2 separate regions of the Homo sapiens genome follow, and region 1 is linked to region 2. Evidence: promoter capture Hi-C in 16 types of primary human blood cells and fetal thymus (Javierre and others, 2016). All regions are on one chromosome and are shown on one strand. Each heading gives the region's core, a stretch centred on a gene start or on the middle of the fragment in contact. The rest is flanking DNA. Distances are from core to core; before and after follow the strand shown.

What was found. Contacts are between HindIII fragments. The CHiCAGO score rates a contact against its expected background, and 5 or more counts as called.
Region 1: a fragment that was not itself captured here is called in contact with the fragment with the promoter of FGD6 in region 2 in 2 of 17 cell types (total CD8 T cells and naive CD4 T cells); the score reaches 7.8 in total CD8 T cells.

The regions. Positions count from the first base shown.
Region 1 is chr12:98,647,247-98,653,541 of GRCh38, reverse strand. APAF1 (apoptotic peptidase activating factor 1) reads right to left here. Exons shown (of 27, transcript NM_181861.2): 2 at 5,045-5,223; 3 at 4,727-4,916; 4 at 3,858-4,055. The coding sequence starts at 5,182. Among named protein-coding and RNA genes, the nearest start is that of APAF1, 5.1 kb to the right of the region's middle. RefSeq lists an enhancer at 2,980-4,179. The HindIII fragment of the contact is 1,784 bases long and covers 3,692-5,475 here.
Region 2 is chr12:95,215,331-95,221,215 of GRCh38, reverse strand. It overlaps FGD6 (FYVE, RhoGEF and PH domain containing 6), which reads left to right and starts at 3,749. Exons shown (of 21, transcript NM_018351.4): 1 at 3,749-3,991. The coding sequence starts at 3,976. It overlaps VEZT (vezatin, adherens junctions transmembrane protein), which reads right to left and starts at 3,409. Exons shown (of 12, transcript NM_017599.4): 1 at 3,330-3,409. The coding sequence starts at 3,365. RefSeq lists enhancers at 2,541-2,590, 3,191-3,430, 2,895-3,490, 3,491-4,085 and a silencer at 3,661-3,890. The HindIII fragment of the contact is 2,300 bases long and covers 2,309-4,608 here.

The DNA of each region.
Region 1 (6,295 bases), core at 3,334-5,833, 3.4 Mb before region 2:
GGGATTACAGGCATGCGCCACCACGCCCAGCAAATTTTTGTATTTTTAGTAGAGACGGGGTTTCACCATGTTGGCCAGGCTGGTCTCAAACTCCTGACCTCAAATGATCTGTCCACCTCGGCCTCCCAGAGTGCTGGGATTACAGGCACGAGCCACCACACCCAGCTAAAAGTTAACAACTTAATATTCTTTAATTTATGCCAATCACCACCCAAAGAAAACATTTCCATAGGAACCACAATTTTAATCAAATTTAGATCTCTTATATTATCTGTACTTTTAAAAGAAAAGGTTTTGCAATACAATTAAATGTCAAAAATCCAATGTTCCTGTATTTGAGAATGGAAGTGAACTCCAGAGATTAAAATTTATCTTTGGGAAAGCACCTATTCTTGAATTAGTGGACATACAAAGGCAGACTCCAGAGAATAAAGAACTAAATATGAATAATAAGACTGTAATAGGACTACTTGAACAAAACTCAGGAAACACAAGTTAGAAGACAAAAAAAAAAACTGATTAGTTTGACTACATCAGAGTTCTCGTCTACTGAGAACACCCAGGAAAAAAATTAATCAGATGGCAAATTAAAATAAGGTATTTAAAAGTCTAAAACCAGCTGAGCACAGTGGCTCACGCCTGTAATACCAGCACTTTGGGAGGCGAGGCAGGGGGATCACCTGAGGTCGGGAGTTCGAGACCAGCCTGACCAACATGGAGAAACCCCGTCTCTACTAAAAATACAAAATTAGCCAGGCGTGGTGGTGGGTGCCTGTAATCCCAGCTACTCAGAAGGCTGAGGCAGGACAATCGCTTGAACCTGGGAAGCAGAGATTGTGGTGAGCCAAGATCGCGCCATGGCACTCCAGCCTGGGCAACAAGAGCGAAACTCCGTCTCAAAAAAAATAAAATAAAATAAAATAAAAGTCTAAAACCAACAAAGTTTAATGTCTAGAATATATAAGAAACTCCTAAAAAGCAAAAAGAAAAAAAAATTGGAAACCCCAATGGAAAATAGACAAATAATATAAACAAAATCCATAAAAAAAGAAACCCAAAAGGCTAACAACAAGCTTATGAAGAAATGTTCAAACTTGAGTTACCAGAGAAATGCAAAGTAAAAGACACAACTTTATAGAAGTTTGCCTGGCAAAAATTACAAAGCTGGATCATACCAACCGTCACTGCACAAGTAGAATTATCGGAGTCCCCATACTCATCTGGGGGAAATGTACAGACTGGAGGGGAATCAAATTTGGTATTTGTATATCCTATCATTTAGTAATTTTGGCTGGACATGGTGACTTTCATCTGTAACCCCAGCACTTTGGGAGGCCAAGGCGGGAGCATCACTTGAGCCCAGGAGTTTGAGACCAGCCTGGACAAGATAGCAAAAACCTGTCTCTACAAAAAAATGTTTAAAAACACACCAAGCATGGTGGCTTACACCTGCAATTCCAGCACTTTGGGAGGCCAAGGTGGGTGAATTGCTTGAGCTCAGGAGTTCGAGACCAACCTCGGTAACATGACAAAACCCCAACTCTACAAAAAATACAAAAATTAGCTGGGTGTGTCAGCATGCACCTGTGGTCCCAGCTACTCCGGAGGCTGAGGTGGGAAGATCACTTGAGCCCAGAAGGCAGAGGTTGCAGGGAGCCAAGATTGTGCCACTGCACTCCAGCCTGGGTGACAAAGCAAGACCCTGTTTCATAAATAAATAATTAGCCAGGCATGGTGGCGTGTGCACCCAGCTCCTCAGGAGGCTAAGGTGGGAGGATCACTTGAGCCTAAAAGTTTGAGGCTGCAGTGAGCTATGATATGGCCACTGCACTCAGCCTGGGCAACAGGGTGACACTCTGTCTCTTTAAAAAAAAACAAAAATAAATAAATAATTACTAATTTTGCTCCTAGCTACAAATACCCAAGAAATTCTTACTCACATAGAAGTTCAACCCAGCTTTGCTGCAGCAGCAGAGAGTTGGATACAATCTACATATCCATTTACTTAGGGTAATGAGCAGTAAAATGGGTTGGTGGCAATCAGGTGTAACAAATAACATGTATACATAGCAACAAGGATAAATCTTAAAAACATTGTGTCATGGGAGATAAAAAACAGAATAATACCATAACATCTATGCAAATTTAAAATACCTGCATACCAACAACATACATATTTTACAAGAGTACACACTTTACACAGACATTTACAAAGAACATACATTAAATACATTAGGATTGTCCATGGAGAGGGGAAAGGAAATAAGAATAGGAAATTTTGAAATGGAAATAAATAAATACAGTGAAAAGCTCAGCCTAGTACAGATCTACTATAATAAGCCGTGAACTAAGGAATATGAATAACTCAGTCCTCTGAACTTGAGATCCCACAAAAGTACGAGGAATATGAATTAAGCTCACATGTACAGTTGCCAGTATCTCTAGGATTTTCTCAAAACAAAGTAGTTAAAACCTGTTCCAAGATAACAATTTATACAATATGACTCCTGAATATTTAATTCCATAGATTGTTAGTCAATTTTAATCCCTAGAATTGAAAATTCATCACAATAATGTAGAGCAATTTAAATGGGGAGAGGGAGTGTTCTTTTAAACCTATAAATTGGAATATTATAAATACACAAAGAAAGTTCATAATATTGAAAGGAAAACTCATTCCTTCACACTAAAGGAACTTAAGCTAAATTTATCCTGAAATATCCTTAGTGATCAACTTTGCAGTAGGGGCTTAAAAAAATCCTTGGCTCTGAGACTTGAAAGGAGCTAAGTCTCAGGAAACTTCTCTGTAATGATAGAGGGGAAAAACCAAGGGTTAGGAATCAGGCATACTTCTGACAAGAGTATAGTCTATACCACTTACAAAGGCTATGAAATTAAACTGAGGCCATGTGTACACATAGATATACCCTAGCCTCCATATTTCTAAGTCTCTTAGAGGCTTACTACTTATTCCAATCATTCTGTCTAAACTGTCTTAACCGTAGATCATGTTATACATACATATCAAAAAAAAAAAAACAAAAAACTTTTTTTTGAGATGGAGTCTTGCTCTTGTTGACCAGGCTGGAGTGCAGTGGTGCGATCTCAGCTCACTGCAACCTCCGCCTCCTAGGTTCAAGTGATTCTCCTGCCTCAGCCTCCCGAGTAGCTGGGATTACAGGTGCTCACCACCACACCCAGCTGATTTTTTTTGTATTTTTGGTAGAGACGGGATTTCACCATGTTGCCCAGGCTGGTCTTGAACTCCTGACCTCAGGTGATCCACGCCTCAGCTGGGATTACAAGCATGAGCCACCGTGCCTGGCCTACTAAAAAAAAAATTATTAACTACTAGAAGTTGGGAACTGTCTTTGAATTCCCCTAGAAGTGTCATACAGAGAGAACACACTGATGAATGAGAACACACTGATGAATGGGGGCAGCCTAGAACTGATGGAGCTATACAACTATTCCTGATGAATACCCTGAGAACCTACCAGGATCGCTAAGGTCAGTGGTATACCTGCCAACATTTCTTAAACCCTCTTCTACCCAGTATGCCCTTCCCCACCCCAGTAACCACCCACTACCTTTCCCACCTTCCCTAGTCTCCCATCCCTACCTTCACTGCCTAGCTAACTTTTATTCTTTCTCCAAACTCCTGCTAAGATGTCATCTCATTCAGGAAGCTTGTCCTATCCATCCCCTCCCTTCAGAGAGTTAACATATCCTTCCTTTGTTCTAACTCTGTACCTTATACTTGTTTCTACCATTCAATTTATCACGTATTGATATATCATAATATTTTTACATGTCTATCTACCTTACTAGACTATGAAATGGACTAAGACACTTACCTTCTAAAAGGGAATGATCTCTAACAGCTTCTGCAGCTAATACAGACTTCCCACAGCCTGCCATTCCATGTATGGTGACCCATCCTGGTTCACCTTTCAATTTGGAGAGCTTCTGCTGAATTGCATTCACCAGCTTCTTCCTTGTGACAAAAACAACTGGCCTCTGTGGTACTCCACCTTCACACAGGACTGTCCTTACTAAAATCCAAAACAAAACAAGCATGAATGAATAGAACTTTGGAATAATTACTGAAGTAATACCATAAAAAACAAAGAGCAAAGCTGAGGCTTAGCCTGAAAATTTCCAAGAGAAGTTAAGAAAATGTGGCTAGCATATTAACTTCAATTTTCTGATTTCTCAGACAACAGAGAGCAAAGACAAACATATATCCTTCAAGATGACTAAAGAAAATGGAAGTTTCTATCTATATCTGCTTTACTCACCCAATTATTTCCTGACTTTTCATTCCCTCTCATATTGAAGACTGGGAAGGCAAGTGTAAAAGGAAGAACATTTATGGAATACCTTTCAAGAACATATATTTCTAAAGATTCTTATTTTTTCCTATAAACTCTATAAACACATAGAACTGGAAAATAAACAAGGGCCTATAAATTGTCTTATTGTCTCTAAAAATTAGGGTAGACATATTATTATCTCAGCAGTACAGTTCACTGGGCAAGAAGAAAAGTTGAGAGTTAATGTGGATGCAAATAAAAAATATTTAAATTGAAAACATCACTACAATTTTTTTAACATGCAGTTTTCAGTGAACTGGTCACACTCTCTTCAAAAGATTACATCTACAATAAGACAAACCCAAAGCAATTTTGATAGCAAAGTGATAGAAGGTATAATGGATACAAACCATACGAAGTTATTCCACTAACTGAATCTTTACCACTGGAAGAAGAGACAACAGGAATGCCATCATGGAGAAGGGCAGCAAGATCTTTATATCCTTCATGTAGTAGAGCATTGTAGAATGATACGTAGGAATCATTATCTTTTTTAAGTATCATTTTAATCAGCATAGCTGCTCTTTGCTGTTGAGTGGGCTAAAAAAAATTAAGTAGTTTAGTATACAACAATGAATATGTATGCAACATAAAGTAGTGGAGACCAGTACAAGTTCTGAAATTCTAAAAATTTTTAAGGAAGTGTGGACTGCTTCAGAGAGCTTTACCTCATTTCTTACTTTTTCCTCTTCTGATATTGTTAAAAATCCATCACTAATCATGTGATCCATGATGTAGGATGTCTTGATGTCCTTTTCCAGAGCTTCTCTATGTTGAAGCAAACAATTTCGAGCTTTTGCATCCATCTTCCCTCAGATCTTTCTCTCTCTGAGCTGTCAACCATGAGCTACAGCCAAAACACCAAAATATTTGTCAGGCCAATAAAAATATGAAAAGATACATAATCTCACTAATAAACAAGAAACGTAAAAAGAACAAAACTGATTTTTTTTCCTTGGCAAAAATTTTTAAATGGACAAAACCCAGTGCTTGGAAAGGTATGAGAAAATGGCCATTCTTATGCACTAATTGGGGAAACTAGAAAATGAATGCAATTTTTCTGGAAAGCAGTAAGATATGGAATTGTTTAAAATAAGCTTTCTCTCTAACCCAGAAATCCCATTTCTAAGGATTTACTTCAAGGAGACATTCAAATACATATGTAAAAATATCCACAAGGAGAATTAATGAGTTTCCAATCAGGTGTGGTAGCTCAAGCCTATAATCCCAGCACATTGGGAGGCTAGAGTAAAAAATAAAAAGAAAAAAGAATTAATGGAGGATGTTTCAGTGATGAACGCAACCTAAATGTCCATCATTCTGAATATAGATTTTAAAAATTAGGGTATGTATATAAAATGGAATATTATGCAGCCATTCAAAATTATGACACATATCTCCATGTATTGACATGGAAAGATGTTCATAATACTGTTGCTGAAAAAAAAAAAAAAAAAAAACAGAAACATGATCCCACATACAACACATAACGTGGGGGCCGGGCGCAGTGGCTCATGCCTGTAATCCCAGCACTTTGGGAGGCCGAGGCGGGTGGATCACGAGGTCAGGAATTCAAGACCAGCCTGGCCAAGATGGTGAAACCCTGTCTCTACTAAAAATACAAAATTAGCCAGATGCAGTGGCAGGTGCCTGTAATCCCAGCTGCTCGGGAGGCTGAAGCAAGAGAACTGCTTGAACCAGGGCGGCAGAGGTTGCAGTGAGCCGAGACCACTCTACTGTACTCCAGCCTGGGCGACAGACTGAGACTCTGTCTCAAAAAAAAAAACAAGTGTTGGTATCATATGAATATATATAGACGTTTAGAAGTTTATTCATCGAAATGTTTGAGTTACTTCTGAGTAGCAAAATTTGGGATTTCTCCCCCACCTTGTCTTATTTTTTTTTTTTTTTTAGTACAG
Region 2 (5,885 bases), core at 2,500-4,999:
TGTATGTAAATAATTCCTTCAAATCAGCAAGAAAAAGAAACAACCCAATAGAAAAATATGCAAGAAATTTGACGTGGCTTCACAAAATGGATATACAATTGGCTAATAAACACATTAAAAATCTTAACATCTTTATCAAGAAAATACAAATTAAAACCACAAGGAGATACCAGGACATAGCCCCTAGAATCATAAAAAGAAAAACACTAAAATTAGCAAGGGTTGATGAGGATGTGGGGCAATGGGACCTCTCATACATTCCTGGCTGGAGAATAAACTGGTACAACCACTTTGGAATAAAGTTTGGCAATATCTACAGAAATATCTAGGTATTTGCTATGACCCAGCAATTCCATTCCTACATATATATCCACCAGAAATATGTTTAACCAAACACATACAAAAAGGTTCACAGTAGCACTAGTTTAAACCTGGGAACTACTCAATGACCATTAATAGAAGAATGAATTTAAAAATGATCATATATTCACATGGAATACTATGCCAAAATAAAAATTCTCATGTTAACAATATGGACGAATCTCACAAATAAAGCCAGAGAGGAAAAAAAAAAGTCAGAAATAAGAGAGTATATAAATGGAAATGCACAGTGTCTAAACAATAAAAATAGACAAAATTAATCTAGGTTATTATGTTTAAATAGTGATCATTTTGGGGTAGGGAGTAGTGATGGAAAGGACCAGGAGGGAGCTTCTGGTGTGCTGGTGATGTTGTTTCTTTTTTCATTTTTTATTTTTTTGGGGCAGAGTCTGGCTCTGTCATCCAGGCTGGAGTACAGCGGTGCGATCATGGCTCACTGCAGCCTTGACCTACCCAGGCTCAAGTGATTCTCCCACCTCAGCCTCCCGAGTAGCTGGGACTATAGGCATGTGCCACCACGCCCAAATAATTTTTGTCTTTTTTGTAGAGATAGGGTTTCACCATGTTGTCCAGGCTAATCTCAAACTCCTGGGTTCAAGGGATCCATCTGCCTCAGCCTCCCAAAGTGCTGAGATTACAGGTGTGAGCCACCATGCCCCATCTGTCCCGTTTCTTGATCTGGGTGCTGGTTACATGGGTGTGCTCAACATGTGAAAATATAACCATCCACACACTTGTGATCTGTGCCCTGTCCTTATGTAAATTATACTGCAATAAAAATTGTGTATATCAAAGAGCAAACAAACAGCAAACTGGAAATTTTTCTGCAAGTATGACAAAGGCTTAGTAATATATGAAGAACTCACGCAAGTCAATTTTTTTAAAGCTAGCATCTAATAAGAAAATGAGCAACAAATATGAAGAGAAATGTTCAAAGAAATAAAAATAGCTAATAAATGTATAAATGCATAAAATGTAAATTAAAACAATGGAATGTTATTTTTGCCTATCAAATTAGCAAAGATTAAAGGAAACTGTTAAGGCTGTTGTTGAGGATTTGGTGAAACCAATACTCTCTTATTCTTAATGGAAACCGGAATTGGTATAACCTTTCTGCGTAAGTCTTAAATGTTCATATTCTTTCACCCACTAGTTCTACTTCTAAAAATTATTCTGAGGAAAATCAGAGTTGTAGTTAAAAATAGGCTTATATCACTGTTGATTACAATGGTATTTTTTTAAAAAAAGGTTATATTATGATACACGTGAGGGGATATTATAATATTAATGTTTTCAGAGAATGATGAATGGGAAAAGATTCACGATAAAGTCAAGTGAAAAATATATACAAAATTCTACGTGGTATACCTTTTGTTTTAAAAAATATCACACACACATTGTGTCTTAATATAGAGGCTAAAAAATTACACACACATAAACACACATTTACATAGAAATAAAGTCTATAAGAACACATACCGTACTGTTAATAGTTACCATCTTTGGGTGGTGGGATAATGGATGATTTTAACTTGGGGGCTTATTTTCTACAATAAAATGTTCCTTGAGCATATATTACTATTATATTCAGAAATCAAAAATAATGGGTAAAAAAAATACACCCATCAGTTACCCTTACTCTAGAAAATATTTCTCTCTCCTTCAGCTACCACATTCAATCTATAAACATTGCCTCGATTTTAACTTACAAGTGTCTGTCCAAGCCATTATTCCATTACGTCTCTCATTTCATCTCAGGCCCTTGTCTTCCCTAATGAACGCCTCATATCTAGACTCTTCACTTCGGTAAAATGGCCACATTTTCCACTGCTTCTTCATTGCAGCCACATCAAGCCACTTTACATAGCCACCCTCCACACCCCGCCCCCTAAAAATGCACACCAGGTACTTTCACACTTCCCAAGCTTGGCATAATCAGTTCTCTTTCCCTGTAATACATTTTCTCCTGCCGGTTTTTCTAATCCAATTCATAGTTAAAGATTCACCTCGGATATCGCGTACTGGGTGTAGCCTCTGGGAGGCCGCAAGAACAGAAATTAATCCTTCAATGACAGTTTGTACATATTTCAACATTTAGCATTCTGTCCTGTCTGTGCCTCGCTCTCTCGCTGTATGGCATGGGCCACTTCATTTTTAAATTTTCTTAAAATCTAGTTGGATAAATGAAAGTAAAGCGTATACATGCAATACACATACGTACAGGGGTGCGAGTTTTGACCTGTGTCTGATGGAAAAAAATGGCATCAAAAACACTCGCCCGATTTTTTTCATTCAAGATGGCAGAGAACGTCTTAAAATAGTCCCACACAAAAGCACTCACATCTAGAGCCCCGAGTCAGAAGAACTGGCTACACCTAGCGCAACAGCAAAGGACAAAAGAATCGAATCTAGATGCTGAGATGCCCTGGCCCTAACTACCCACAGTAGGTCCCACAAATAGACTTTAAACCGTGTTAGAAAACGGGCACCTGCTGCCTTCATTCCGAGGGCCACGCCTTGACGGTGAACAGTGACCTGAAGCACTCTGGATACTGACCCAAAAAAATCGCGGATGGAAAAGGAGGAGGCTAAGTTGTGACTATCTAAAAGGCACGATTCGGCCCCGCCCCAGCCGGGCGCAGTCCCCCCCGCCGCACATCCATTCCCAGGAAGGAAGAGACACCGCTCCAGCCCAGAGCCTGGCAACCGGGCACCGTCTGGGAATTCTGGGCGGGCCCGAGATAGAGGCCGGCCACGGCCAGGGCGCCTCTGGCTACACCTGTCAGGCGACGACGGACTCTAGGCCCTGAAATCGCTGGGGTTCGGTGGTCGAGGCCAGCTGGAGCGCGTCACCCGATCCCTCGCCCCGGGAACGCCTTGCTTCCTCGATTTCCGTCTCGTCCTTCTCAAACAAAGGCAATCCACACCCACCGCCATTTTCCTCTTACCTCAAAAACCACCTCTTCGTCAAACTCCGGTGTCATCCTTCTCCGCCATGCCACCCGCCTCAGCACGATGGGAAATGAAGGCGGGAGTACAGGCGGCACGGAGCTCCAGCTCCTGCCCGTCCCGTGGGTCCAGAAAACTACAATTCCCAATATGCCTCGCCGCTCACGCCCCCTTTTCGAGCCCGCTTATTGGAGAAGAGAGTGAGCGTGTAAGCGAGAGAGGCGGGAGCGAGCTGAAGCTCGAGCCCTCCGATTGGAGGAGGCTAGGGCTTTTGTCTGCCTTTTACGGCCGCGACTAGCAGGGGGCGCCCGGAGCACTGCTGATTTTTGGAGCCCGAGAAGGGCACGCGCCAGCGGAGCCGAAGAGAGCACTGCTCGTGCCCGCGCCTGGCTGTCAGCCTGCCGCTCTGCGGGGCGGTGCTAGTGCTCGCCCGCCCGACCCCGGCGGCTCGCGCCCGGGAGCGCCGCAGGGTCGCTAGAGTCGGCCGCGTCCTTTGTGTGGCGCTCAGGCTGCGCCGCGGGGCGGCGGGACGGAATGTGGGCGCTGCGGGGGCTTTTCTCTCCTACCCGAACTGTGGGAACAATGGACTGAAAGGGGAAGATGGATTGAGGGGCCGAGCGGGGAAGCGAGCTGCACCGGGGAATCATGACTTCTGCAGCCGGTAAGTGACGGCGCTCGCGCTGCCGCGGGAAAGTTTGTGGCGAGCGCTGCTAGGCTTGGGCTCGCGAGCAACTTTCTTCGCCGGGGTGGGCGAGTTGTGTGCCCCGTACCTTTGCCGAGCACCTCGGCAAGCGCGGAGCTAATGGGATTCGCTGCCGGCTTTCTCGTCTTTTCCTGCCCAGAGGGGCTGTTTGGAAACCCGGGATTTCTCGGGATCTCCCTTCCAAGGGGGACTGTGCTGGGGGCTCTGCACCAGGTGAAATGCGATGTGTGAAGGGCGTTCGCTCATCTCTCCAGCAGTGCGAGGACTTCGCCTTTGCATGTGAAAATAGTGTAGATTCCCAAGTTAATAGATCAGTTATTATAGGTAAAGGCAGTGTTCTCAGCGTGTTCAATTTGGCCACTAAGTGAGTCGCTTTCAACCTTGTATCTGCTGGTAAACCTTTTACCCATTTTAAAGAGGCGTAGACATTGTCATGTCCTGGTGGTTTTACCTCTGTTACCTGAGAAGCAGAGGAGTTGAGATTGTTGAGGTTTTTTTTTTTTTTTTTTTTTTGCTTGTCTGCACCCAATTACAATTATTTTGTTTGTTTCTACCTGATTAGGGTAAACAAAGCTTTATTTTCTGTCTGCCTCCCATAGTTCTTTCCCCTTCATCCAAATGACAAAGCCTCTATCTTTGTGTGGATTTTCAGCAATTCTAGACGTTGTGTTTCTGAACATTCTTAAGGAACAATTTCTGTTTTACAAAATAATTACCAAAGTGGTGTTACGTTCACTTCGTAAGTACATAGGTTAATTTTTAAACCAGAACTTATGTATTAAGTAGAGTGTTATGGGTTATTTTACGTTTTTGTCCACGTTGAAACTTTCATTAGAAATTTTATAGTGAAATAGTTTAAAGCTTCTTCTCAAGGTTACTTCCAGAATCAGCACTTAAGTATCAGATTAAATTTTCATTGCTTTTCTTGGCATTTGTTTAAAATTCTTGCAACTTGAAACTGTCCAACAGCACTCAAATGTTCTGATTTGTATTATTTCTAAAGCCTAGATATATTGTAGTGTTGCATTGCTCCCTGTGATCAGATTACAACAAACGAAACAAGAAGTTAGCCAATAGGAAAAGAAAGCAAGAAGTGGGTGTTGTGTGGGTCTTTCCTTTTTGATGTTATATGCACTTATATGAGATATCTTTATAAACTCTCTTTTCTTTGCCAAAGGGAGGCTTTATACTTACATAAGGTAAATTATTTTCATCCTACATTTCTGTGCCTTACCTTCGTTCAAGAAATTGATTTAAATTAAAAGTGGTTGGAAATTTTAAAATCCTTCCAGCCAGTTTTAGCTCTTTCCTTTTTGGAGGTGTCAAATGTATTTAAAATAACCGTGTCTTATATGTATCAGTTTTCAATTCCAGTCTTAACAGTTTATAAGGAACAGGCACAGAAGCATGTAATTTCACATTTATGTAAACCCAATTTCTAGGGCCCAGACTGGAAGTTCATGATTCTTGCATTTGAATTATCCTAAAATAATGCAAGCTATTTTTGTATTTTATCAACTTTACAATTAAAGAAATCCACAGAAATTTTTGTGGTGTTTAAAGTGGGACACTTCCTGTGTCTAGCCGAGTTGGTTGGTTTTTAGCATTGCTGGCTGAGAAGCATCAACTACTTTTTTGCTCACCCATCTGTTGGATTTATCATAATTCTTTCTGGTGTCTAGATGGGGAATATGGAAGAGAACTGGGGTTTTATTTCTACCCATTCTTATATGTATACATAGTTCTTACAAGCTGATTATGGTGCTTTTTGGGAACAATAGTCAAATTCATTGAAACGTTTAGGAAAGTTACTTGAAGTTAAGGGAGGGGATTTTTGCTTTTGAATCTAATC